Linked DNA regions of Homo sapiens: all the other regions are linked to region 3. The links are contacts of gene promoters, found by promoter capture Hi-C in blood cells and fetal thymus (Javierre and others, 2016). All regions are on one chromosome and are shown on one strand. Each heading gives the region's core, a stretch centred on a gene start or on the middle of the fragment in contact. The rest is flanking DNA. Distances are from core to core; before and after follow the strand shown. Region 1 holds the start of MIR29B2CHG (MIR29B2 and MIR29C host gene). Region 2 overlaps PLXNA2 (plexin A2). Region 3 holds the start of LAMB3 (laminin subunit beta 3). Region 4 overlaps PLXNA2 (plexin A2). Region 5 overlaps PLXNA2 (plexin A2). Region 6 overlaps PLXNA2 (plexin A2).

What was found. The method cuts DNA at HindIII sites, captures the fragments that hold promoters and counts their contacts. A CHiCAGO score of 5 or more calls a contact.
Region 1: a fragment that was not itself captured here is called in contact with the fragment with the promoter of LAMB3 in region 3 in 1 of 17 cell types (M0 macrophages); the score reaches 6.5 in M0 macrophages.
Region 2: a fragment that was not itself captured here is called in contact with the fragment with the promoter of LAMB3 in region 3 in 1 of 17 cell types (M0 macrophages); the score reaches 6.6 in M0 macrophages.
Region 4: a contact is called between a fragment that was not itself captured here and the fragment with the promoter of LAMB3 in region 3, in 1 of 17 cell types (M0 macrophages). The highest score is 8.4, in M0 macrophages.
Region 5: a fragment that was not itself captured here is called in contact with the fragment with the promoter of LAMB3 in region 3 in 2 of 17 cell types (M0 macrophages and M2 macrophages); the score reaches 7.6 in M0 macrophages.
Region 6: a fragment that was not itself captured here is called in contact with the fragment with the promoter of LAMB3 in region 3 in 1 of 17 cell types (M0 macrophages); the score reaches 5.4 in M0 macrophages.

Annotation. Positions count from the first base shown.
Region 1 is chr1:207,819,742-207,824,142 of GRCh38, reverse strand. MIR29B2CHG (MIR29B2 and MIR29C host gene) reads left to right here and starts at 1,440. Exons shown (of 6, transcript NR_135299.1): 1 at 1,440-1,939. LOC148696 (a long non-coding RNA gene) reads right to left here. Exons shown (of 1, transcript NR_026817.1): 1 at 1,547-4,401. RefSeq lists a silencer at 1,250-1,429 and an enhancer at 1,570-1,749. The HindIII fragment of the contact is 1,107 bases long and covers 1,360-2,466 here.
Region 2 is chr1:208,177,784-208,182,133 of GRCh38, reverse strand. All of the region lies in intron 3 of PLXNA2 (plexin A2), which reads left to right. Among named protein-coding and RNA genes, the nearest start is that of PLXNA2, 64 kb to the left of the region's middle. RefSeq lists enhancers at 1,315-2,268, 2,392-2,948. The HindIII fragment of the contact is 1,999 bases long and covers 1,223-3,221 here.
Region 3 is chr1:209,651,175-209,655,738 of GRCh38, reverse strand. It overlaps LAMB3 (laminin subunit beta 3), which reads left to right and starts at 3,314. Exons shown (of 23, transcript NM_000228.3): 1 at 3,314-3,370. RefSeq lists an enhancer at 2,613-3,812. The HindIII fragment of the contact is 2,819 bases long and covers 2,687-4,564 here.
Region 4 is chr1:208,024,835-208,029,313 of GRCh38, reverse strand. PLXNA2 (plexin A2) reads left to right here. Exons shown (of 32, transcript NM_025179.4): 30 at 272-484; 31 at 1,155-1,305; 32 at 1,976-4,479. The coding sequence ends at 2,071. Among named protein-coding and RNA genes, the nearest start is that of LINC02767, 68 kb to the right of the region's middle. The HindIII fragment of the contact is 2,650 bases long and covers 1,699-4,348 here.
Region 5 is chr1:208,199,327-208,203,787 of GRCh38, reverse strand. The region is part of intron 3 of PLXNA2 (plexin A2); the gene reads left to right. Among named protein-coding and RNA genes, the nearest start is that of PLXNA2, 43 kb to the left of the region's middle. RefSeq lists a silencer at 2,170-2,464. The HindIII fragment of the contact is 8,872 bases long and covers 1-4,461 here.
Region 6 is chr1:208,217,258-208,221,772 of GRCh38, reverse strand. PLXNA2 (plexin A2) reads left to right here. Exons shown (of 32, transcript NM_025179.4): 2 at 3,771-4,515. The coding sequence starts at 3,851. All of the region lies in intron 3 of LOC105372884 (a long non-coding RNA gene), which reads right to left. Among named protein-coding and RNA genes, the nearest start is that of PLXNA2, 25 kb to the left of the region's middle. RefSeq lists an enhancer at 1,815-2,109. The HindIII fragment of the contact is 1,020 bases long and covers 2,339-3,358 here.

The DNA.
Region 1 (4,401 bases), core at 664-3,163, 1.8 Mb after region 3:
AAAAGCTGCAGTTCTGCTCTTGCAACACAAGGAGCAGACTGGAGAATTTAGATCTGCGTCACAGAGCTGAGAGAGAGAGAGAGAGAGAGAGAGAGAGAGAGAGTGAGAGAGCGAGCGAGCAAGCAAGCTCCGTCGATAGGTCTGCTAGCAACAGCCGTGCTGCAGCAGAGAGAGAGAGAGAAATCAAGAAACAAGTCATAGCAACACCGGGCACCAGGTTCTGCCAGCTCACTTGCTGAGCGTTCAGAGATCTGTCAGGGCCAGAGGCCTCTGGGTAGCCTAGGCTAGGAGATGACACGCAAGGTGGCACGGGCGGTTCCCGTGGGGAGGAGGTGGGGTGGTGGTGGGGGGCAGGGGTGGGAGCAAGAGGTTGTGGGGCGACGGTGGAGGGTTTGATGGGACCAAATTCTGGAACATTCGGGACTGCGGCACCTTACGGCGGGACCAAGATTTGGGTCTGCGCAGGCGGCGATGGGTGGTCCGACGGGCTTCAGGACTTGATGGCGTAACCCCCTTCTTCCCCCACGTATGTATTTGCTGGGATCAGGGGCGCTGTCTCTGTGTATGTGGGTGCTCTGTCTTTCTCACCTTCTTTCTCGATTTTTGCTATTTATTTCTCTGAGGGAGGGTTTTTTCCCACTTTAATTTCTTTTCCCTAGTGTCAGCTGCTCAAGCCTGACCAGGGTAGAGGTGAGAGGAGTGAACCATCCCCTGCTTCCCACCTGACCTCCCAGCTTTTACCCTATTTCCTTCTAGTGGACAGACAGACTGGTTCTCCAAGTTGTTTGGGTGTCAGCGTCCATCTGTCTGTCCGTGCAGGTCTTATGTGGAAGGTAAGGGAGTGAGAAGTGCCGAAAGGAAGACAGAGGGACAGTTTTTTCCCAGGGGTTGCCTTATTGAAAGGTCTGGCCCTGGGATTCTGAGGCTGGTGGGGAGCCGAGTGGCCAGGGTGGGGTGTGGGCTGGGAGAAGTGGGGTAAAGCTGGTAGGTTTGTCACTGCGTAGTTGGGAAAAGTGGGGAATGGTGACGCAGTCACTGTTGCATCTGGTTAGGAGCTCTATGGGGACAGGTAGTGAGGCTCCTGGGGTCTCTGTGGCCAGCTGAGAGGGGTTAAGGATGAGCTAAGAAGGGAAGCTAGCATTTAGAGATTAAATGTCATCCTTTTGGCGTTGGAAAGTTGTTTACCTTGCGCTCTCTGTGTCTCCATGTTGGCTCCCTTCCAGTTCACATGTGATGGCCTTCCCTGTACTGCTGCATCATTAACTAAGTGACTGAGCTGGCCTTCCATTGGCCAGGGGAGGGCTCTCCCTCCAGACACTTCCTCTGATTGGTGGGTGGGCCAATGGCAGGTGAAAAGCTTTTTTTGATTGGCTCAGGGCAGGGTATCAAATCTGAATTTGCATTTCACTTGCTTAAAGGGGAGCGGGGAGAAGCCCAGCAGCTTTCTAAAATCTCTTTAGGGGTGTGCGTAGGCTCCTGTGTCTATGCCTGCTTTTGACTGCCCAGTTGAAGCCTCTTCCTATGCCTTTTAAAATTTCACGCACTATAAGGAGGAAGAGCTCAGGGCTCCCAAAACTTTTTATTTAGAGGGAAGAATGCTAGGGAGATGGGTATGCAGAGGGTTGACCAAATTGGAAGAAAATATTTATTCTGTAGTTTGGTGTTGGAAAAGGGAATTTTCCAATCAGCCACACCTCAGTGTTGCGGCAAAATAATTCTTGGCTCCCCTGGAAACGCATGGGCAAGGTAGGGCAGAGCTGCTGCTGCTGATACTGCCACCACCCTGGGCTTCCTGCTGACTCTGGGCTACTCCCTGGGGACAACAGATTTGCATTGACGTCCGGGGCTGTCCAGAGGCCCTCAAGAGCCAGTTGTGAGCTGAGCCCAGTATGGGAAAGATCTACCTTCTGGAAGCTACTACTACGTGGTGCTTGGAAAGGTGAGGATGGGGGACTGACCCCAGGAAATTGCTCGAAACTCCGCATCTGGTGGGATTTCCAGAAAAGTCAGTGGGAGACGGGAGGTTTGGAGGCCCCGGGTTAGAAAGGTTTGTCAGTCTAGGGAATGAGGAGAATCAGAATAAAACTAGGGCAGCAGGCTGTCCGCCTTTGGTTGGGGGAGGGAGGCCTCGAAAAATCAGGGTCCCGGCTCTCTAACCTGTCTTTGTCGCAGGTCTCACGTTTGTGGGGAGGGGGTTTACCAAGCCCTGCGCCATGCGCAGTGGCCCCCACCCGTGACTGCGCATCTGGAAGCGCAGTGCGCCCTGGGTCTCTGGCCTAGGACGAGCACCGCCCTTCTTATTACATAACTGAGGGCATGGCACGCGCCTTCTCGGCCCTTCCTTGCAACCCTACCTTCTTGCTCCCCAGGGCCCATAGAGCTGGGGAGGGTCTGACTGGGTAGCAGTGAAGGACTGCAATCCCTGGGAGGGCTAACTCTTGTCTAGTTACTGGCAGGAGCCAAGCTTGAGGACAAAAGTGGTGGTTTTCTAGCCTCATCTTGGGGAAGAGGCTACAGAACATCCTTCTGAGTGCCCCATACCACCTATGGCCCCTAGGGCCTCTCTGGTGGAGGGGGTGGCACCCTTCTTTCACTCATGTCCCATCTGATTTTTGAGAGGATGTTTCTGAAGGAAAAGATGTGATGATTATCGGGGGCTTGGTTGGGAGGTAGTTTTGACAGTTTACTCCCCTTGTCACTGGCTTCCCCTCTTTTCCCTGGGTGGGTTTATGATCTTTCTGGACTCCTCTGATGAGCTGCCATTTTGGAGCCATTTCTGCTGGTCTCCGACATGGTGGCGTTGGTTTTTCTGTCCTGCTGTGCCAGTTCCGCAGAGTGGGCGGGGGGCGGGGGCTATGACGGAGGAGGGGAAGGGGGGGCAAAAGCACAGCAGAGGCAGGCACAGTGGTGGCTGCCGCAATGAAGGTGGCTCTAGGGGCAGAGCCGCCTAGTCCCACCCTTGGACACAGTCCTGGGTGGGGATTCAGGTGGAAGGCGTCTGGGTAGGGGTTCAACACCTGGGCCCGGCTTTGCCAGAGCGTGGGTTTCCCATGTCCTCATCAGCCTGGTGCTTGGAGTAGTTCGGAAAAGCTGAGTGTCTGAATGAGAGTGGAGGCAGAGGCTCGGCAGCTCATCTCAGACGTGTCAGACCCGTGGTTTGTGTTCCCCAAATAGGCTCTGTCTCCAGCAGCCTCCCTGTGGGGACAGGGAAGTGAGGTCCATGGCAGCTTTGAGGATCTGTTCGGATGGTCCTGCCTGCTTACTGTTTTTCTTCTCTTTCTCCTCCATGCCCCCTGCCAGTGCCATGGTTCCAGCTGTAGTCCTCTTGTGAGGCTCCCCGCTGCCCGTTCCCCCTCTCTCCAGGCCCTTCTGCGTGCAGCGGCCATCTTGTCTTTCTTGCTCAGAAACTTAAAATGGTTTCTCATAATTCCCAGAGTAAAATTCCTTCCCTTTAGCGTGATGCTCAATGCTGGCCGTAACTGGCCTTAGGTTTCCTGTACAGTCTTACCTCTCTCAGTTTCTTTTGGTGGACCATAGGTTCCAACAAAACCAGGCAACTTCCTTTTCCTATCTGTTTTCACCAGTGATGTTTTCCATGCCTCTTCTCCTCTGCATCCACCTGTGGCAGTCTCACTTTCTCCGTGGACCTCTCCTGATTTCCTTGGCAAGAAGCAGTTCTCATAACCACCCCTGCCCTTTCAGCCAAACTTCCATACAGTCTGTCCCTTTTTATGGTACTTTTGTTGTGTTATGATTATTTGTGTATAAGTCTTATGTCACCTATCAGATTGGGAGCTCCAGGAGGGAGGCTAGAGAAAGGAGAAGGAAAACAAATACCTATTTGGTGCCTTCTGTTTGACAGATACCATGTTATACACTTTCCCTGCAGTTACTTCATTTACTCCTTTCCACAGCCCTGTGGGGAGCATCCCATGTCTAGTAAGTGGCCTGGTCATGACTAGAGCCCTGGTCTTCCAAAGCCTTTACATTTTTCCTCTCTGAATTACTGGTGTTTACAAGATGGCTGTTATGAAGTAGATCCCCAAAATTTGTCTATTTAAGGAATTTTGTAAGTCCCTAATGCTCTGAGGGAGTTTGGGTGGTCAATCTTGTGTCCATGGTCTGGGTCCCTCAGCTGTTCCTTGACACTGTCATTAACTTTCTCCTCTTCCTTTGTGGTCAGGTTCACTCAAGATGATGGCTTTTTTCTTGTAGCTGAAATTGATGGATTAACTGACTCAGTTATCCTGGTTGCCTTCCTCGTACAAGAGGAGGGAGAGGTGGAGTGGGATACAGCATCTTCAAAGCCAGAATAAGCTCCAGAATTAGAGAGCAGGGAGCAGAGACACTGGACTTGAACAGACCTAGGTTTTCATTGTGATCCTTCTTCTTAGCTGAGTG
Region 2 (4,350 bases), core at 973-3,472, 1.5 Mb after region 3:
GAGATGAACCCATTGCTCATCTCCTTCTACTGGTTTGATTCCTTTTGTCTTGAGTTCTAAGCTCTGGAGCTGAGCTGAGCTGAGCTAGACTGAACAGGCCACGGTGAAAGAGACAGGAGAGACACTAAGTCAATTTGCCTTTGTTTGTATAGCAGCTAGAGCAGGGAGGAGTTGAAATGAGATAATAGAAAGAACTTCCTAAATGGGACACGGTCTCAGGGGAGTGTAACATTTTCTTTCCTAGCAAAATTTCAAAATAAGAAAGTTGGAGGAGAACATTTGCCTCCCAAAAGCTATTTTTCTGGACATAATTTAAAATTACAGCTTCTCCTCCTATCGCTCTGTATTCCGCCACTTCCCATCCCTGGACCTCATCCCTACCTTCACAGTGAACTCGGGCCCACAACGGCCTGGTCTACAGATGGCGGAAAGAGGTGGGAGGTTTTGCCAGAGAGCAGGGGTGAGATTCCCCTCCCAGCCCCTCTCTGACTTCTGACCTCTGCACCTTTCTTGCTAGTGATCCCTAAATTACTGGGCTGTCTAACCCTCTCTAGGGAGGAGGGAAGCAAACAGGGCTGACGGGAGGTGGAGCAGAGAAAGTATGAGGTGGAGGTCAGGGGTCTTTTCACAGTGTGTTTTGGCAAAGGAAGCCTGTGGAGCTGCCAGTGGGATCAGACTTTCATCTCCTGAGCTAGCCCCCTCACTGGGAAAGCAAAAGCTGTCACTGGAGCTGTGATTTGGAGCATGTGCTCTGGGGAACTAGGCTGCACCCCTCAGGGTCTGGCCCCCTGAAGGAAAGACCAGAGAACAGACAGGGCCTTCCCTGCACCCTCCTGCCACCACCCTCCTCAGCCTTAGGAGGTGACAGCAGTGCCTGGAAAGGGGCTTGCTCAGAAGGAAAAGGCTCGGTCTGCCTACCTGGGTCGGGAAGTGGTAGATGGGATTGTCCTCAGGGCCCCAGCCAGCATGAAGCCTCTCTGATGCTTCTTATAGCCCTCAGTGTGTTCCTATCACTCCAGAGAACCTCCCACATGCATTTGTCTCCCAGTCCAGCAAATTAAAATCTGAAAGGAAGGAAGAGGTCACAGGCTCAGAGCCTGGACACTAGAGGTTTCTCACTGAGTGAACTTTGGAAGGCTTGGAAGGCTGGAGTTTGGGGTCGCAGAGAAGTCAGCCTCCGCCATCCCCTCTCAAACTTGGGCAGGGGGAGACCCCAGAAGCTTGACATGGCCAGGGCCAATAGCGGTTACTCCCTTTCCCTCCTACCCCCATTTCCCTCATCACAGTCCTTTTTACCCCTCCTGGGATATCTTCCATCCCAGTTCCCCTCGATTGCTTTAGGGTGTGGGGCAATGACAGCGAATACTCATGAGGGGCAACAACTTCAGACAAAATCTCTGAAGACTCACCCGTGTCTCCACACTTCTTCCACCCCTTGCTAGCTGTGTAAAGTTAACCACTGTGACTCTCAGTTTCCTCGTCTGCCAAACGGAGTAAATAATAGTGCCTTTCTAGGATGGATGCCAATGTTGTTTGGATTCAACATAAAGCAGATGCAGAGGGTGTAACGCGGTGCCTGATACATGAAAGTTAAGCATGAGCTCTTGGGTTTTTGTTTCCCAGGTTTCTTCTCTCTTGGTGGCTCTTTAATGAATAGTGACAGTCCATACCCAGGCAGCCATAGCCACTGCCACTGCCACAGCCAAAGCTCAGGCTATGTGATGAACCTGTTTTCTCTGCCTTCTGCCCCTGCTCCCAGCCATCCCGGCAGAGGTGCCCACTCAGGCCTCCTACCGGAGCCCCTCTCCCACCGCTTGAATGCAGAGGCGTTTCTTCTGCTGACAGCCTGAAGACAGGCCATTTTTCTTCTCCTCCCATATAATGGCCTTTACTCTCCTACCACTCCACCCCCTTTCCCAGCCTTAATGACTTTAACATACACACAGTTATTTAAAAAAAAAAAAAAAAATACAAGCCCCCAGTGAGCTGCTCTAAACCGCCTGTTGTGGAGGAGGAACAACCCAAGCACATGTTCACAAGTCACTGCATGTGATGACAGGGGGCCTTGTGCTAATTTCCTCGTGTTTGAAGCCCCAGGGTGGGGGCGGGGCAGGAGGCAGCCAGAGGGGAGAGACCCAGGGCTTGGGTATTTGCTTGTTCCCTTTGATCCTCCTAGAAAATGCTGTAGCATTTGGGGAAGTATTTCATCCTGGGAAATCTCAAAGAAGAGTAAGAAAGATGCCTTAGGCAGGGGTTGGGGGGTGGCAGGGGATACTGTAGAAGGAAGATGCTACCAGATGACCTTTTCTCTCCTTGAGATTCTGAATCCCTGCTCTGGCTTCCCTGGGCAGCAGGAGAGAGTACAGAATCTCCAAGGGGAGGCTTCAGCTCAAGGTATTTATGGATTTGCTGAAGCCTCCTACCCTAACACTCACACAGTTTTTGCCTTCCAGTTTCTCTTTGTGGCTTATCTGAGAGAGGCTAATAGAGCCTCCAGGGCCCTCATCTGCCCCACCCTGTGGATAGCATCTAGGTTGAGCCTCTCCCTCTGATCTTGACCTCTAGGGCTGACGTGTAGTCTGTGAACCAAGGGTTGGTCTGGTGGGGGAGAAGGGGAGTGAGTGCTGCCTGCCTCTTGGCAGACCATTATGCCAGGAGGGAGGAGGTTCCTGACCACAGGACAGGTCCGGCAGAAGGGAGGGAGGACAAAGAGCCAAAAGCCCCGGCTGCACCTCCTAGCAGGGAAATGGAGCTGGCTGTGAGCCAGGTTTTCCTCTAAATCAGAAGCAAATGCACCAAAGCTGCAACCTTACCCCTTGACCGAGGACGGGAAAGTGCCTGTCTGACCTCACGTTATTGGTGCTATTATCATCATTATTGGTAATATCACCATCATCATCCTGTAATTTACCAGCTTCAATGGCGAGGATGCTTAGGCTTCCTCTGGGCTTTCATGTTAAGAGAAAATGAGTTGTGGCAGCCTCCCCGCCTCTCTCCTCCCCATAACCACCCACAGGGCCTCTGCCCCTGTCCTCATCACCAGAGACTCTCCGTAGCCCAGGCCCAGCGTGCTGTCATGCTTGTGGGGATGCTGTGTGTCAGGGCTTACATGCTAGGGCAAGGGGGAAGGCCCCTTTGTGTGGTAGCACATGTCCCTCCTCTTTAAACCAAGAAAAAGACTTCAACCCACACCCTAAACTAGTTGTTCTCAAACTTAAGCTTGCATCCGAATCACCTGCAGAGCTTATTAAAATACAGATCACTGGGTCCCACGCCCAGCATTTCTGATTTAATGGATCTGAGATGGAGCCTGAGAATTTGTATTTTCCAAATGCTGATTTTGTAAGTTTCCAGTTGATGTTGATGCTGTTGATCTGAGTACCACATTTTGCAAACCACTCCCCTAAGGGTGAGTTATTGGAACTCTTCTTCTCCTCGCATCCTCCTGGATACAGGTGTTTACATTGTCCCTCATTCGATACCTTCCAAATTGGGTTCCCAACAAGGAGGCCAAGGGCCCAGGTGCAGTGTGAGATGGGGGAGTGCTGCTAGCTCGCACACATAGGAACCCCTTGGAGAGAAGGCAGAGGCAGGCAACACCCCCGCCCCTACCCCTGAAGATTTATTCTTTCATTTGGTATTTTAGGCCTTCCTCAAGGGGGTGCTGGGGCCAGCCTGACTCACTGTGTAAACCTTTTTCAGGAACACTGGGCTGCAGCCAAGCTCTCCTCCCTCAGTTAGGCCCACCCTCATTCTTCCCCACCTGTTCCTCTAGCTGAGCTTCAGGCTCAGCAGAAAGTGACAATGTCCCTGTGCACACTGTCCCCATGCCCTGTAGGGAACAGGCACCTGGCTGCACATTGTGTACATTAATTTTCAAAGCAAGGCTTCTCATAACTCTTTGCCATAGCTTTCTCCTCCCCTCTACTCCAAAGAGCTCAGGAATTCCACAAAAACAGTGCCATGGGAGCGTGACCTTTGCTCTTTTTTTTTCTCCTCTCGGTAGGATAAAGAGGAAAGAAGGTAGGAATGGACACTTATTATGCTCCTATAGAATGGCAGAGGCTGTGCTAAATGCATTGCACATCATCTTCTATTACCAGGAGTGTTTTCTGCCTAATGTTTGTTCAAGTCCTCAGGGTAAGGCCCCTGTTTTGCAGTAAGAGGTTTGAAATCTCCAGGTGCACACTGTACACAGATAACCAGAGACGGGCAAAGTCTAGCCCAGTGATTCTCAGACTTGAGAGTGCATCAGAATCACCTGACTGCTTGTTAAAACGCAAATTGCTGGGTCCCACCCCCAGAGTTTCTGATTCATTAGCACTGGGCTGGGGCAGGCCCCAAGAATTT
Region 3 (4,564 bases), core at 2,065-4,564:
ATAATAGACACAGTAGCTTATAATGCCACCCCCACACCCTGTCAGAGACATTGCCAGGAATGACTGAGAAGCAGGCAAAGAAGGAGACTGCCTCTGTCAATATGGTGACATTTCTGTAATTGGAGATAGGTGCCTCAAAAAAGACCTCCGCACTCTGGCTGATACAGGAATTTCCACTATTAGTAATCCATCCCAGTGCCCAAAGCCTGGATTGTCCCCTCTGAGAATGCAACTACACATCAACGGCACAGGGGATGCATTGAACTGTATCAATTGTTTGTACTTTAGTGTGGATCCATTCATTCCACAAGTATTGAGCACCTACTATGTGCCAGGCACTTGGAAAACAGTAGTGAATAAGATAGAAATCTCTGCCTTCTTGGATATTACATTCTAGTTGGGAAGAGACAGAAAATAAACATAAGCAGATAAATTATATAGTTGGTTAGAAGCTGGTACATGATGCCCCCCTACCAAATAAGTAAATAAATAACTCACCAAAATATAGGGTAGGTGGGGTTAGGAGTGTTAGGATGGGGGACAGGGATGGGGCAGGGAAGTTGGCTGTAATTTTAATAGTGTGTTTAGGATAGGCCTCATTGAGAAGTTAGGATCTGAACAAAGACTTTGAAAGAGGTCAGAGAGTTAGCTTTGTAGATATCCAGGGGCAAGACCGTTCCAGGCAGCAGAAGCAGCTGGAGCCAAAGCCCTAAGCCTGAGCTAAGACAGGGATAGAGGCCATTGTAGTAGAGGTGAAGAGTAATGGGAGGAAGGTGGTGTAGGGTCCCCTAGACTCTGAAAAAGCTCTGGCCTTGGCCCTGAGTGGGATAGGGGCATGTGAAGATTCTGAGCTCGGGGTGCATAACCTGCTGTGTTGGGACTTGACTGTATATCAGTGAGGAGGCTGTTGCAGACGTCCCAGGAAAAGAGGCTCAGGCCAGGAGGGAAGAAGTAGATTCTGATTATTATTGGAAGGCAGAGCTGACCGAATTTGCTGATGGAGTGATGAGGTTTGAAAGATACTGAAGTCTGGGATGACTTCACTAGCCACTTTCCTGAGCACACATTCTAATAAGTCAAGGCTCTAGGGCAGATAAGTGCTCTGTTGTAGGAGGATGGGCGCAGGGAGAGAGGAAAGGTGTGCACACAGGGGAGGCTGAGGGGCTCCAGCCACAGTACCACACCCCTTTAATCTTAGCTGGACCCTGATCTGGCCTCAGGCTCTATTTTAGGCTACTTGACTGAACAAATTGGGTTCTGAAGCTCCAGAGCTTGTGCCTGGAGCCCTGGAGTTCTTGGGGGACTGGATCCCCACTTGGAAATGATCAGTGTCCCTCAGGAGTGAGGCTGGCTGGGCTGCTCTTGGGGGTCTGCATAAACAGCTTCCTGGACTTTGCCGGGAGTGTAGGGGAGAGCCAAGCACAGCAATTGGCATGTCCCTCCTGCGAAGCCAAACCACTCCAGGACCTGCCCAAGCCTGTGAAGTCTGAGACACCGAATGTGTATTTACCTGGGCTCATGGCCTCAGATAAAGGGAGGAGGAGGAGGATTTAAGGGGCCCCAGCTACTCATGGTGAGGCCCACCGCACACCTGCCCTGCCTTTTCTCCTCTGAGGATCTGGGATTGCAACACCTGCTCTCTTCTGCTGAGTTAATTATTAATGAGTTCTTTGTCACATCCTCTGGTGATGGGCAGAGGGCGAAAGTTTCATGAGCGCTCTGAGTTCAGGGAGTTGGGGAAGTGGAGAGAAAGAGACCACCAGGTGGGAGAACTGAAAACACAGGTGTGTCAGAGTCAGAGCTGACCTTTCTCGGTGGGGGACTTGAGGGAGGTCTCTCTGTGTTGAAGGGACACTGCTTCTACTGACCTTACTTGCTGAGTTGAGCTAGATTTCACTGGAATGCTTACAGGGGGCAAGACTCTAACATTTATTGGACTATCAATTATGCATCAACTTACATCAACAACTCACTGCCCACTTGCTAATTACACTATTTCTTCTGCCTACCTGAACTTATGCTTAATTCGAATCTGAGGGTTAGAAATGCCCAATTTAATCCACAAAATTCTACATTTCCCCCTTAAGGGTCTTCAAGCCAATTTCTTGGACATAACCCTCCAATGGTGGAGAACTTTCTGTTTAGGAGACACTAACAAAGTGGAATCGTAGTTAAGAAGCTCCTTTAAATAGTAGCTTTGAGGTCCTAGCATTCCAAAACGGTGCCAGTGCAGGCTCTCCAGGGCCAAGATATGGACTGGCTGACCCTCCAGGTTTCCCTAAAAGCTCTCTGACCCTAACCTGGGGGAAAGAGTGTCCTGTGAGACCAGCCTCTCAATTTGGACCTGCCACTTCCATTTACAGTGGCTGGAAGCCCAGGATCCCTGAGCAAGGAGCCCACAAAAGAAGCTGTGTTCTCAGGCCTGGCAGGAGGCCAGGGAAAGTCTGTTTTGACTTTGTCAGTCAAGCTATGCTTCAGCCTTTCCTTCCACCACTTGTGGTCAGGTCTGTTTTCTGGCCCTCCAGGCGGGCATTCCTGCCTAGGGAGGGAGGGGCTAGGAGACTAACCCTCCCCACAGGTGGGAGGAGTGACTCACAGGCAGCTACCTGTCCCAGGGCTCCCTGCCAACCCTGTGGAGGGAGCTGGAGGCGAGCCATTTAGTTACTCTGCTCATTTCTCTTAAGCTTTCCTTGGATGAGTTGAGCTTTGAATCCTTCCTGATGAACCTTGCCTTTTAAGGATCCTCCAAATGCCCCAAGAAGCTGGGATTTTTCATTTTTTTTTTCACTGGGGAGGGGAATGGTGCTTTCCAGGGTCCTGGATGTTTGAGTCTTCTCACCTTCCAGCCCGGTGATATGTCTGGAGCTTTAACTCTCTATATAAGCCCTAATCTTTGTGTTCTCTGCCTGATCTTCTGTCTGGGGTGGTCCAGGTCACAAGAAGAAGCTGACCCCTGCTGGCTTTGGGAAAATGCTGAGTTCATTGCCTGGCACAAATGCAAGGGCCCTTCCCCACCCTGTGAATTCTGGTCTCTGATGATCACTTACATGTGCCTTGTGCTTTCTGTTTGAGGGGCCCCTTGCAGCCCCCACAGGCAGGTGGGCATTGTGGAGCTCACTACAAGAACTCTGGGACGGACCGACCAACCCACTTGCCCAGTCCCGTCCTGGGAGGTGGGGGTGCAGTGACGACAGATGGGTGTGACGGCTGCCAGATTCCTGAGACCCGCCCTGCGGTGGGGCTACACCCAGCCAGGGAGTCTCCAGAGGTGAGGCTGTTGTTTAAAAACCTGGAGCCGGGAGGGGAGACCCCCACATTCAAGAGGAGCTTTCAGGCGATCTGGAGAAAGAACGGCAGAACACACAGCAAGGTATGTTACCTGTCTTTACCTGCCTGGTGCGGGCCGGATGCGGGAGGAGGACTGTATCTCTGGATGCCTGGGGCCTGGTTTCAGGGCCTGATTTATTCCTCTTCCTGGGAGCTCACTCAGGTGAGCTAGGTTAAAATGTCTGCTACAGTTTTGATTTCTTTTTCACATTTGATAAGCACCTCAGTGGCTTAGAAGAAAGCAGGTTCAGATCCGGGGTTGAGCACAAAAGAGAAGTGAGAAGGGTGGGCTGGCCTGGCTCAGAATGCCTACTTGCAGGGGGATTTTCAGTCAGGGGTGGGAAAGCTGAGAAAGCACTGGATGAAAGTCAGAAGATGGGTCTCTCTTAGGCCATCGTTAGCTGTGGGACCCCAGGCCACATGTTCCCTCCCTGGGCCCATGACTCTTTTAGGAGAGGGATTGGAAGGAATGATTTTGAAGCATTAGGATCTATAATTTAAAGATGCCAGAAATGTCCTCAATTTCCCCCCCCGCCCCTGCCTTGCCAAGCCCCCAGCCCTCCACCCCAGCCAAAAGAGTTTGTGGCTGTCATTGGAACAGAGTGAACATCCAATTCAAGGCAGAAGGGTCACTGCATGAGCAAGGGTGGGGCATGTTTCCACAAGGCAGGCCTGCCTCTGGGACCCCACGGTGGCTTTCGAGCATCCTTCCCCAGCCTCCTTCAGAATCCCTGCTTTGTGGCCTCCCAGCCCCACCCCTCTTGTCGAGCCCCAGCCCATCATTGAAGACATTTTGGGTTGCTTCCCTTTCAGAAGAAACCCTCACTCACTTGTTAAAGACAGCCATACATCTCTCCCTGTTGCATCCCAGAATTGTGGGCACAGAGCCTCAAACTCAAAGTGGCCCTGAATGGTATTGGAGGCCATGCCCGTGACAGGAGAAGGTTTGCCTCCAGGCCGTCAGCCACTCTGACTCATTCACTTTGGGCGGGGCTGGGTTGAGGCTGCTGGTCTAGGCCCTGAGAAAAGCCAGCCCTCTCTCTTGGGGCTGGAACTAGGTCTTGGCCCTTTCTACAGCTTTTCTCCTGCAAAGGGTCCAGCCTTTTCCTGCTCCCCACGTTGTCCTTACGGCTGTGTGGGGTAGGGCAGGGTCCACACTCCTTCCCATCCATTTTAGAGGAGGAAGCTGGAGTCTGGGAAGGGATGGGATTTTCCCAGGGCACCCTGTGAGTCACAT
Region 4 (4,479 bases), core at 1,774-4,273, 1.6 Mb after region 3:
AGAAGGGAACAGAACACACCCAGGCCCACCCCTCGGATGTTAGAGATCAGGGTCAGTGCCCCCATTAGGGTACAAAGTGCCTCTCCTTCCATTTCTCCCAGGTCAGTAACAGCTTTGGCTAAATTAACCCTGGCTGGACCCATTTTCTTCCATTTTACTCCTTTGCCCCTTCAGGTGGACAATTTGACCTTTGATGGGGAAGAATATCAGTGGGCAGCAGAAGGGGCACGGCCCGCATGCATTCTCAAGTCTTCTCTGCCTTTCCCCACAGCCTCCCTCTGCGCTTCTGGGTGAACGTGATTAAGAACCCCCAGTTCGTGTTTGACATCCACAAGGGCAGCATCACGGACGCCTGCCTCTCTGTGGTGGCCCAGACCTTCATGGACTCTTGTTCAACGTCAGAGCACCGGCTGGGCAAGGACTCCCCCTCCAACAAGCTGCTCTATGCCAAGGACATCCCCAGCTACAAGAGCTGGGTGGAGAGGTCAGTAGCACCCTCAGGACAGGCCCATGCCCTTGTCTCCCTGCCCATTCCCCGCTCTATAGTCATCACTGACTAAGGACTCAGACGACGGTGTCTGTCATCTCTTCAGGACCTCCCACTCCCCTCCCTGCCACACCCCCTGCTGCGGGAGGAAGGGTGGCTTTGTGCCCGTGGAAGTCAGATGATTATCATCCTAATTACTATTCATTGAGCATGTGCTAAGCATTCAGCATTCTGATAAAGATTTTGTGTGTATCATCTCATTAAAATGTCCAGCAGAGTTGTGAAGCCAGTATTATTATTATCCCCATTTTACTGATAAGGAAACTGAGGTACAGAGAGGGTAAATAACTTGCCCTGCGTCACACAGCTAGCAGGTAGCAGAGCTGGGATTTGAACACAAAGAGCCTGGTGAGAGTCTGGGCTTTTAACCACTCTGTTGGGCACCGCAGCCACGAGCTCTCGGCTAGATGGAATCTACTGAAGAAACTCTGGCCTTCAGCCTCAACCTCAGCATGAAGCAAGAGGCCAGAGGAAGCCACATCAGAAGAGAAATAGGGAGGCAGGAGCAACTGGGTACATCAGTGCCCTCGAAGGACCTGGGCCCGGGGTAGCTATAGGTAAATGTTTGCTGAGGCCTCCACCAAGGCGCCTATCCTGTCTCTGGCAGATACTACGCAGACATCGCCAAGCTCCCAGCCATCAGTGACCAGGACATGAATGCCTACCTCGCCGAGCAGTCCCGCCTGCACGCCGTGGAGTTCAACATGCTGAGTGCCCTCAATGAGATCTACTCCTATGTCAGCAAGTATAGTGAGGAGGTGAGACAGGGCCCCAGCAGGGACAGAAACCAACAGGCAAGGAGCAGGAAGCCTGACTCAGTCCTTAAATAGATGGCAATTTAGAAAACACATTCAGGGAGTCAGAAGCCCATGAGCTCGAAAATTATCATTCCTTTATGAGGCAACTCAACTCCTGATTCACTGAAGGCTTTATACACTTCATTGTCTTTCACTCATTGTTAACACAATAAATAACACTTTTAATCATTTGTTTTTCAGTTCAAAGTATGGTATAATTAATTTCATTCTCTCTTAATGAATCAAACTATTCTTTGCATTCGGGCAGATCCTGTCAGTTACATTTCAGATAGACAGGTGGACCCTAATATGAATAGAGATTGATTAGGATACCTTTGGAAAACTCACAAAGCTTCTTTAGCATTGAACGTGAAAGTAGTAGTAGTAGTAGCAATAATTAACACTTGCATAGCACTTCCTATGCCAGAGAATGTTTGAAACACCATACATACATACATATATATAGGTGTGTGTGCATGTATTCATTCAGTTAATCATTTAAATTATTTAAGGTTATGTGCATGAAGGCAGAATGGAAAGGTAGACAGAGGGCAAAGAGGGAACGACTCCAGAAAATGGTGTCTTCTATTCTGAGTCCTGAAGTCTTCCTGCCTTTGTTTTTGCTCCTCAGCTCATCGGGGCCCTAGAGCAGGATGAGCAGGCACGGCGGCAGCGGCTGGCTTATAAGGTGGAGCAGCTCATTAATGCCATGTCCATTGAGAGCTGAGAGGAGGAGCCTCGCATTCCTGGGAAGAGGGACCTGTCCAAGCTGTCACACTGGGAGTCTCAGATGGAAGGACAAGTGATGGGGATCAGGCCCCAGAGCTTGCTGTCCCCTGAGACCCCATCCTGGGGAGAGGGGAGGACTCCTCTCCCTACGCCAGCCAAGTTTCGTCATAGCCAGTTCCAGCTGGGAGAGACAGTGGGCGTCGTCCATCCTCAGTGAGAACACCAGAGAACCCGGGGCCGGGAGAAGGTGGTTCTTCAAGCCGAGAGGCACGAGCTGGGGACAGTTCTGCCTCTGTGACTGCTGCTTTGCATGAAAACTCATTTGATGTATATTGGGGAAATAATGAGAACTTTATTTAATTTTTTTAAGAAAAAGGGAAAAAAACAGAAATAAAACAAAAAGCCGCCCTGTTAATCCCGTCCAACTTTTGTTTAATTCTGATTTCTGTCTCCCTTCCATCTTTTCTCCCATTCCTCCTTCTTTATATAATGCCTATTTCCAAATGCCAGAGAAAGCAGAGATGCTGAGAGACATTGGAGAGAAAATGACTGTCTCCTTTTCCTTGAAATTAAAAAAAAAAAAAAAAAGAGAAAGAGGAGAAGAAGAATGATGAGCACAAGTATGCACCAAACACTTCGCAAAAACAGAGGCCAGTAAAACCTGGAATTATCCCGGCAGCCAGAGGAGTATGGAACTTCCAGAACTTTGCACAAATTGCAAAGCCATCAAGAGCTCACCCTGGCTGACTGGAAACTGAGCTTTATCTACCACACACCTGTATATTCTCATCTTTTGAGAGGAGATGTGTACCTAGATAGTACCAATGCTTTTTGCTACTGTTTTTTGTTTTGTTTTATTTAATCCTAAACCTCAACAAATGAGGAGCTGGTCTTTGATATGTTTCCTTTCAATTTCCCTAAAGTTACTATGAGAAGTGGGGTGAGGTGGGCCTCTCCCAGACCAGACACCTGGCAGCCCTGCCTCATATCAATCCCTGTCATAAACCAGGCACCCTGGGGAAACGGCCTGGAGGTGTGTGGGCCAGGCCTCCACGAGGTTCCATTTGAAAGTTGATTTGGAGACATAGGTGTTTGACTTTGGAGTTCACTCCAATCATCCAGTGGTCCCTGGCAATTAAAAAGAAAACAAAAATCAAACACTGTTTACAGCAAGCAATACTTGAAGAGCATAGGTTACAGAAGCTGCAGTATTTATTATTATGCTTTCTTTCTTTCATTCTCTCGTGCCTGGAGAGGGGAGACCACCCTTCGCTCATATACGGAAGCTCCTGACCATCTGGGCCTACAGCACTTCCTCAGTAGAAATGACTGTGGCATGCCCACGTTACTACCTTCTGCCTCTCTTTCTGCCTCTCACGGACTTGTGAGTGTGAAGGACAAGTGGATGACTTCTCACTGGACTTTCCTTCTCTGTCTCTTCTGATGATGCCTAAAACTATGGATAACCAATTCTCCTGAGTGTAGATTCCAAACAAAGAGACCAAAGCTCCATGCCCAGGTCCAAAGGCCCCATAGAAGCCAGTGGGAGTCATCGAGAGGAAAGGCGCTCTGTGAGTGTCAGGACCTTGGTGGCCAGGATAGCCATCAGAGTGTCCAGGCCTCCCACATTACCTTGGATCCGAGCAGCCAGCTCCAACTGTTCTGCAAGCAGCACTGGAGTCAGGGGGTAGGAGGACAAGTGGAAGCAAAGGTGTGGGACTGGGGAAGACAAAGAGGAACAAGCTGCCCTTCCTCACTTTTCAAAGGGTCAGGAATCCTAGGCTATGATGCTGGGAAGCTAGACCAGCTCCTCCAAGAGAGACTAGACCAGGGTCATTTTCTCTGTTATTAACTCTGGGCTCCAGCTTCTCCGTGCCCTGCTTTACCTCCAAGTGGTTCCAATTTCCAAAGGCCCTGCTGACCACATGTGATTCCCAGGAGAGGGCTGGGGGAGGGGAGCGCAGAGGTCTGGCTTCCATCCTTGGCGTGTAGCTTTGGATCGCTGTCTAACCACACAGCAGACGTTGCCCGGTCTCCCCAGCTCTAGTTTCTTGCCTGAATGCGGCTGACAAATGGGAAGAGAAAAGCATTCAGCAAAATACTCAGGAAACTTGCTGTTTTCATTATAATTCACAACCAGCCATGCCAAGGCCACTTTCTTTTGAAAATCCACTTCTTTAAAGTTTCTCAGGCCCTATTAGTAGCCTGAAGGAAATACTAATGACTGGCCTTCCGCACTAAGCCAAAGTGTTTGCTCTTCATAGCACTCAAAGCTTATCAGCGCAGAGCCCATAATTTATGGAGATAAAAGGAAAGGAGATATAGGTAAGAAGAGTGTGACCAGGAGACCTTATGCTACCTGTAAAAAAGTTCAGCCCACCCCATCTAACTTCTGAGCTCTGTTTG
Region 5 (4,461 bases), core at 339-2,838, 1.5 Mb after region 3:
CCTGCATCTTTACCCCATTTTACAGATGTAGGAAACTGAGCTGTAGCTATACTAAATGTCTTGCCCAAGGTTATATGCTCACCCCCACCCTCCAATGCCAATATTGACATTGGCATTTAGACTTTCTCCCCAAACACACTAACCTGTTACTTGGCTCCTCTCGTGGGGTGGAGTTGCCTTGGCGGATGGAAGGCCAAGTTGGATGAAAAGCTGAGAAACATGCCTTTCTCTCTGTGCCAGCCCCACCAAACAATAGCCACTCATTCCTCTGAGTGGAAATGATTCACTTGTCTCTCAGTATGAACCCTTGATTGAGTAAACAGCCGGAGCTGCAGGTCCACATCTAAGAGACTTAGTGGCTCTCCTGGGACCTGAGACCGCCCATCTGATACCCTAACTCGCCCAGGCGTCTCAGCAATGCTGGACACTGGGGTGGTGGGGAGTAGAGACCCTCTCCCCTTCCCCAGAGCCTGCATGGAAGGGGTGGGGTGGTGGTTCAGGGAGCTCACCACCACATCCCTAGTAATGAGTTTGGCTCCCTGCCCGGGCTCCCGCCGCCAAGCTCGCTGTTTGTTTTGTTGTTCTATAGGCCTCTTGGGTCCCCAGAACTGGTCTTCTGAAAGCTGGGAAAGGCTGCATTTGGTTGGCACAAGAAAGGGGCATATTTACAGAATGTCCCACTCCCACCCGTCTTGACACACACACTCTGGCCAGCACATCTCCTTGCTTGACCATGGCAGGTGTAGACAGGAGATGTCGGCTCTGTCCAGATCCCCAGCAGACCCCAGGGAAGGAGGTCCTGATCTCCCAGAGTCATTCTGAAAGGGGAGAAACTAAAGACTCATTTATTTTTTGTACTTTTTGTGTAGTTTCTAATATACTTCAATCTTGGACAATTCTTGTATGAGGCCTCAGGCTGTGTATTCAGCTGGCTGTTTTGCAGTCTTAAGGTTGAGCTCCTGCAGCTCGGGGCTTTATTGCCAAGCAGGTGAAACACAGAGAACTGTGTTTTATGGATGGGTGGGATGGGCGTAATGATTCAAGCTCACAGAATACAGGTGACCTAAATAGGCTATGCAAAATTTTCAAGAGGCCAAGGTGCTGGTGTTTACAGAGGTCTTATCTTTAGGAAAATACAGACCCTTTTACACCATTAAGCCTTGCCTGTCTGTGGATTTTGTACATGGACCTGGATCTCTGAGTCGGAAGGGACTTACAAAGACCACCTGGTCCACTCTCCTGCCTTCGGGTAGGGACCAATTTGCATAACAAAGAGTATAGGGGCTTTGGAGAGATCCAGTCCTGACTCCATCCTACTAGCTGTGTGACCTCTGAGCTTTAATTTCCTCAATGTAAAATGAGGACAGTTCTGGTACCGGCATCATAAGATTACAGTAAGGATTAAATGACATAATTCATTATTGAACTGATATTTATTGAATATGTACTGTGTGCCAGGAGCTTGGTATAAAGCAGTAGAAAATAAAACTGTCAAAAATGGCTGCCCTGGCCAGGTATGGTGGCTCACACCTGTAATCCCAGCACTTTAGGAGGCCGAGGCGGGCTGATCACCTGAGGTCAGGAGTTCGAGACCAGCCTGGCCAACATGATGAAACCCCATCTCTACTAAAAATACAAAAATTAGCCGGGCATGGCGGCATTGTGCCTGTAATCCCAGCTACTCAGGAGGCCAAGGTGGGGGAATTGCTTGAACCTAGGAGGCAGAGGTTGCAGTGAGCTGAGATTGCACCACTGCATTCCAAGCTGGGGGACACAGAGAGACTCCATCTCAAAAAGAAAAAAAAAAAAAAAAATTCTTGCCCTGATGGAAATTATCTGAATGTGGGAAGTCAGACAAACAAAGTAAGTAATCACAATATATATTATGTTTAGTGGGTGATAAGTGCTAAGGAAAAAATAGATCATAAAGAAATAATTCATGGAAGGGATGGAGTGCAGAGCTTGGGCACATGGGCATATGTGCATTTAAATATTACTACAATTGTGACTTAACTTGTGAACTTCGATTTTTTTTTTCCTGTGGAGTGGGGTAGTAATAAGCACTTTGCATATTTGTTGTAAGGATTAAATAAAATCATGTGTAAAAAGTGCTTAATATGGTGCTTGGCATGCAAGTGCTTTCTATTATTACTGATATCTTTGAGGCTTCCCCAAAACCCCACTTCTTCCCTGGCTCCCTGGGGTAGTGATGCTGTCAGATCAGGCTCCTTTTCAGTGACATGTTTGCAAGGTCAGACGGAGGAAGAGAATCCTGTCCCCTACTCCCAGCCCTGAGTCATGGGAAAAAAATACTTAGAAGACGGGACCAGCTGAGCCGAACTAATCTAATCCTGCTGGACTTTGGCATCCAGTTGCATTAGTCACCAGTGAGAGGTTTCCCAGTCTCATATCACCAAACAATATGTACTGACCCCCTCCCCAGGGTGGGGCTGAAGGAAGTGTCAGTTGCCCTGTTGTAGCTTCGCAGAATTAACTAAAACAGGCCCATTCTCCCCCTTTGCATGTCTCCACACCAACCACAGTATCCTGTGCTGCACAACTCTGCCTTCGATGAATTATGTGATCTGAGGGGACCTCAGTTTATTCATCTGGACCACCCATGCCTGCCTGGCAAGATTGCTATGCGTATCAGACATGGAGGATATATAATGTCTAACACAGATCTTGACATAGGAGATGCTTAATAAATGGCAGTCATTGCTGCCTACCACCTCTGTTGCTGCTAGAGTGACTCCTCCTACTAGTATTACTACTACCACTCCTGTACTATTACCATGTTTTTCTGCCACAGTCCCAAATTCTCTTTGATTCTATTAGTTCATTAGTCCCATATAATTTTCAGATGATCAAGAAGGATTGGAGGCCAGGCGCGGTTGTTCACGCCTGTAATCCCAGCACTTTGGGAGGCCGAGGCAGGCAGATTGCCTGAGGTCAAGAGTTCAAGACCAGCCTGGCCAACATGGCGAAACTCCGTCTCTACTAAAAATACAAAAAAAAAAAATTAGCTGGGCCTGGTGGCGGATGCCTGCAATCCCAGCTACTAAGGAGGCTGAGGCAGGAGGCAGGAGAATCGCTTGAAGCCGGGAGGCGGAGGTTGCAGGGAGCCAAGATTGTACCACTGCACACCAGCCTAGGCGACAGAGCAAGACTCTGTCTCCAAAAAAAGAAAAAAAAAAAAAAAAAAAAAAAGAAGGATTGGGATATTTCACTGCTCTGTTGCAGATGGTGATTCTGAAATTCAGAGATTATGGACTTACTTGGGGTCAAGTTGTAAATCAAGGGAAGATGTGGAAATTGGAACCAGAACGACAAATACTTCAGGGTGGAGATGGGCCCAGCATATACCTAAGTCACTTGTGTAGCCCAAGATGATCAAGCTAAGAGCTTATGGCTACTTTAATGTCTCTTTCCTTCTTGCTAGCATGTGCCTCTCTGTCCAGGGAGGCAGGAAATACATGGAGATGAATGTGGTGAAAATGAATCTGGAGCTCTGGCCTTCTGAGTCTCTTCCTGTGGTTCTATTCTTCTCCTGGCCTCAGCCTCCAGAAAGGTTTCTAGGCTCCAAGGTGGGAAAGAAGTTCAGGAGCTGGTGCCGTTGGGTTGTCCCAATCAGCCATCCCCATCCTACCCTGTGTTATGGTTTCTATGGCAAAGGCTGAGTGTCCCCCAGCTAATCTGGAAGGAGAAATGGCATCAACAGGCTTTAATAACAAATCTGGAATTCCCACGCTTGACAATTGAGGGGAAGAGGCTGGGGAATTGGGGTTAAGGCCCCCAGGGGATAAGATTGACGCTATCAAGCAAGATCAAGAGTGTTCCCTTAAATGTGTATCATAGATTTAGTAGCTGGAGGGGACCTCAGAAAACTGATCTGGTCTACTGACTTTGGACAAGTAAGATGCGTATTGTTCTATTTTATGAATGAGTTAGCTGAGGCCTAGAAAGGTGGAGTGATCTGCTGAAACTCACCCAGGTTCTTACCCACGGAGGCAAGACTGGAACCCAGGTTTTTGAATTCCAATTTTGGGGCCCTTCCCTATATCATTTTAAAGGACTTTTTTTTTTCTTTTTTTTTTTGAGACAGAGTCTCACTTTGTCACCAGGCTGGAGTGCAGTGGCGTGATCTCAGCTCACTGCAACCTCCAACTCCCTAGTTCAAGCGATTCTCCTGCCTCAGCTTCCCAAGTAGCTGGGATTACAGGCTCATGCCACCACGCCCAGTTAATTTTTGTATTTTTAGTAGAGACGGGGTTTCAACATGTTGGCCAGGATGGTCTCGATCTCCTGACCTTGTGATCCACCCACCTTGGCCCCCCAAAGTGCTGGGATTACAGGCGTGAGCCACTGCGCCCGGCCTAAAGAACATTCTTTCTGCACAAAACATCAGACTGACCTCGGCCTCTCTAGCATGCAGGCATTTCCTATGCCGAACTTAAAATT
Region 6 (4,515 bases), core at 1,599-4,098, 1.4 Mb after region 3:
CTCCCTTACTCAGAATGTGGATAGGAGTCCTGATCTTTGCCCACTGGGCTCTGCTTGGAACAGCCACTTAGTCACATCAATTTGGCATAGAAAGATGAAGGCTCTCAACGTGCCCTTGAAGTCAGCTGTCTTCATGAAGGCCACACTCCCAAGGTGGGGTGCAAACCTCCCCTCACTGCAGGAGACTGTGCCTCCTCTTGACTCCAGTGTCCAATGACAGCTGCTCCCAGGCGGGCAGTCCCTGAGTCCTGTGAGATGAATTCACTTGGCTGGTTATCAGGAGTGGCCTGTCCCAAAGCAAATGCTGCATGAGGGTGAGAGGAAAACAGCCCAGCTGGAGTGGTCTGTTTAGAACTACTGGCCTGAAAAAAAAAAAAAAAAAAAAAAAAAACAGAAAAAGAAAAAAGCTCCTGACCTAATCAGCCTCTCCAGGTTGGAGCAAAAAACCTCAGCTGCTATTGGAATCACAGACTCCAGGAACTGAAGGAACTAAGCTTCGAGGTAGCATTTTATCTGAAAAAGGAAATCTTATAGGTTGACTAATTCAAATACCTTTTGTTTTAAGATCAAGAAATAGGCTCATGGAAATGCCAGACTGGTCTAAAGTGAGTGACACTATAATTCATGAGTCACACAGGCAGAATGTGAACCCAGGGTTCCTGAGTCTCCCACCTTTCTTCCTGCCCTGTGACCTCATGCCTTCTAGACATCAGGACGTTTCTCATTCTCAGTCTAACTCTCAGGATCCTGTGTTTCCACCAGCCTTCCTGCAGTCTGCGGAGAGGCTATATTGGGACTTGTGCAGTAGTATGACAAAGAAGATCACCTTGGATCTATTTCTTTCCCCTTGCCACATGCTTCCCAGACTGAGCTCTGTCACTGGGTCGGGGAGGCCTAGGGATCAAAGGCACACCCACAGTGTTCATCTCATTGTGGGTGGGAAAGGAAGAATATAAGCAAAAAGAGAAGTCAAGAGCTGTGGCAGGATTTCAGAAGTGCCATCTCCTGTGGAGTCTTCAAAGACAATAACAGGCCAGGTGCAGTGGCTCACGCCTGTAATCCCAGCACTTTGGGAGGCCAAGGCAGGTGGATCACGAGGTCAGGAGATTGAGAGCAGTGTGACCAACATGGTGAAACCCTGTCTTTACTAAAAATACAAAAAAAAAAAAAAAATTAGGCGGGTGTGGTGGCACGTGCCTGTAGTCCCATCTACTGTGGAGGCTGAGGCAGCAGAATCGCTTGAACCAGGGAGGCGGAGGTCTCAATGAGCTGAGATCATACCACTGCACTCCAGCCTGGGCGACAGAGCAAGACTCTGTCTCAATAATAATAATAATAACAAAAACTAACATAAGTTAAGTGCTCACTGTGTGCCTGCAACCATGCTAAGAGGTTGGTCTCTATATTGTCTCATTTACTGTCATGACAACTTGAAAGGTACATACTGTAGTTATTCCCATTCTACCAGAAAGGGACATGAGACTTGACTTGCCTCAAATCCCAAATTTGTTCCCAGATTCTGTCTAACAACAACAAAAGCCACTCACTATTCAAACTGTGTCTTGGGAGGATACCAAGCAGGGAGGTGAGGTGGCTGATCTTAACCGCATACTAAGTCCTTCCATGTTATCTCTGCTACCAGAACCCCCTTCCTCCCCTCGCGGCTCCTCAAGGAGGAACCACTCTCCACCTGGAACCCAAGGAGATTTTCTTCCCAGCGACAGGGGCAGAGAATGGCCTCTTGCAATTCCCCATCCAGCTGGAGAATTTAAGGATTCTGTTATTTCCTTTCCACAGCTCCTCTTCAGGAATTCACGTCCTGCTACCGGCCTCAGGACATAGCTAAAAATAACCTCTGGTTTCCAAACTGAAAGCCCTGTCTGTTGGGAGGCTTTGCCGGTGTGCGCCTGGGGCCGGAAGGGCTGTGTCGGAGTAGCTGAGGTCAGCCTGAGTCTCATGCCGGTGTTGCCTTCCTCTTTCCAAGGAAGCCCAGGGCCTCATGAGTCACCCCGAACACCCTGGGGGAGTCGGGTTGGAGGAGGGAGTTAGGTGGGACCTACTGTGGCACCACGGTGGCTGCCAGGCCGAGGATGCAGAACTGAACAAGAGGAAGGGTCGTTCCTAAAGAAACTCTAGGGGATTCTCTAAGTGGTGTCTGTTCTAATTATAACCCAATCCAGCCAGAATGGGGAGTTGAGGGAGAAAGGCCTCTCCTAAGCTGCCTTGGAGCAAACTCTCCATCCTTCGGGTGTTTCCATCCCTGCCACCTTATGTGCCCAGAGTTCTGTCTGGACTTGCCTGAGAAGGTTGCTGGATGATCTTCCAGCTGAGAAAAGCTTTCTCTGCCGGACAGCTCGCTGCCTTCTCCTGGTGCCGCAGTCACTTCCCACTGTCCCTCTCCATAAGTCAGGACAGTACCATGATAGTGATGGAACAGGCCCTGCTCTCTGACCTCCAGGTCCTGCTCTCTGACCTCCAGGCTCTGCTCTCTGACTTCCTGCCCCTGGCCCAGACTGCCCCTGGCTACAGGCTGTCCTCAGGAGCCCCACCTTGCCCCTCTGGGCAGCTTCCTTGGAACAGGGAAGAATAAGCACCAAGGCTCTGGAAGTGGAGGAGCCTTAAAGCCTGGGAGTCAGGAGGCAGGGGGAAGAGTAAAGGAGTCAGGGCTAGAGACTGGGCTTCGAGCATGGCCCACTGAGGCCCGCTGGTGATTTCATGGATGCTGAAACAGTCAGGAGGCCCCAGCAGTGCCTGAAATGAGACTGAATCTCACCTCACCACCCTTTGCTGCTCCCCACATTCTCCCAAATCTGGTACCCCTGCCCCAGGTGGCTGAAGCTGGACTCAGCCAGCCAGTAACCCCTAGCAAGGAGACTGGTTCTCTGTGTGTCCTGGCTTCCCATGTGCTCTGCCTGCAGAGAGGCAGAGGTTGAAGCAATTTCCCGAGGACCTGGCTACCTGGCAGCAGCTGGGCGTCCACCTTGAGAAGGATGGGGGAATCTCAAGAGATCTGCCTGTCTCCCGAGGGCTTTTCCGGCTCCGGAATGGCACATGTGGGAATCCCAGTCTTGTTGGCTACAACATTTTTCCCTTTCCTAACAAGTTCTAACAGCTGTTCTAACAGCTAGTGATCAGGGGTTCTTCTTGCTGGAGAAGAAAGGGCTGAGGGCAGAGCAGGGCACTCTCACTCAGGGTGACCAGCTCCTTGCCTCTCTGTGGATAACAGAGCATGAGAAAGTGAAGAGATGCAGCGGAGTGAGGTGATGGAAGTCTAAAATAGGAAGGAATTTTGTGTGCAATATCAGACTCTGGGAGCAGTTGACCTGGAGAGCCTGGGGGAGGGCCTGCCTAACAAGCTTTCAAAAAACAGGAGCGACTTCCACTGGGCTGGGATAAGACGTGCCGGTAGGATAGGGAAGACTGGGTTTAGTCCTAATATCAAATTGACTGGCTGGGTGAACTTCAACAGCCTTTTAACCTCTCTGGGAGATGAAAACGATGGCTTAAGGGGCCAGAAATAGAGATGCTTTGTAAAATAAAATTTTAAAAAAAGCAAGTATTTTATAGCATAAAGGCTAGAGACCAAAATAGATAACAGGATTCCCTGAACATTCCTAAGAGGGAGAAAGTATGTTAAAAATAGAAAAACCAAAATGCAGAAGGAGGAGACTCACAGAGCTAAACCAGGATGGGGACCCTGGGTCAGGCCAGCCTCTTTGCTCCTCCCGGAAATTATTTTTGGTCTGACCACTCTGCCTTGTGTTTTGCAGAATCATGTGAGGGCCAACCGGGGAAGGTGGAGCAGATGAGCACACACAGGAGCCGTCTCCTCACCGCCGCCCCTCTCAGCATGGAACAGAGGCGGCCCTGGCCCCGGGCCCTGGAGGTGGACAGCCGCTCTGTGGTCCTGCTCTCAGTGGTCTGGGTGCTGCTGGCCCCCCCAGCAGCCGGCATGCCTCAGTTCAGCACCTTCCACTCTGAGAATCGTGACTGGACCTTCAACCACTTGACCGTCCACCAAGGGACGGGGGCCGTCTATGTGGGGGCCATCAACCGGGTCTATAAGCTGACAGGCAACCTGACCATCCAGGTGGCTCATAAGACAGGGCCAGAAGAGGACAACAAGTCTTGTTACCCGCCCCTCATCGTGCAGCCCTGCAGCGAAGTGCTCACCCTCACCAACAATGTCAACAAGCTGCTCATCATTGACTACTCTGAGAACCGCCTGCTGGCCTGTGGGAGCCTCTACCAGGGGGTCTGCAAGCTGCTGCGGCTGGATGACCTCTTCATCCTGGTGGAGCCATCCCACAAGAAGGAGCACTACCTGTCCAGTGTCAACAAGACGGGCACCATGTACGGGGTGATTGTGCGCTCTGAGGGTGAGGATGGCAAGCTCTTCATCGGCACGGCTGTGGATGGGAAGCAGGATTACTTCCCGACCCTGTCCAGCCGGAAGCTGCCCCGAGACCCTGAGTCCTCAGCCATGCTCGACTATGAGCTACACAGCGATTTTGT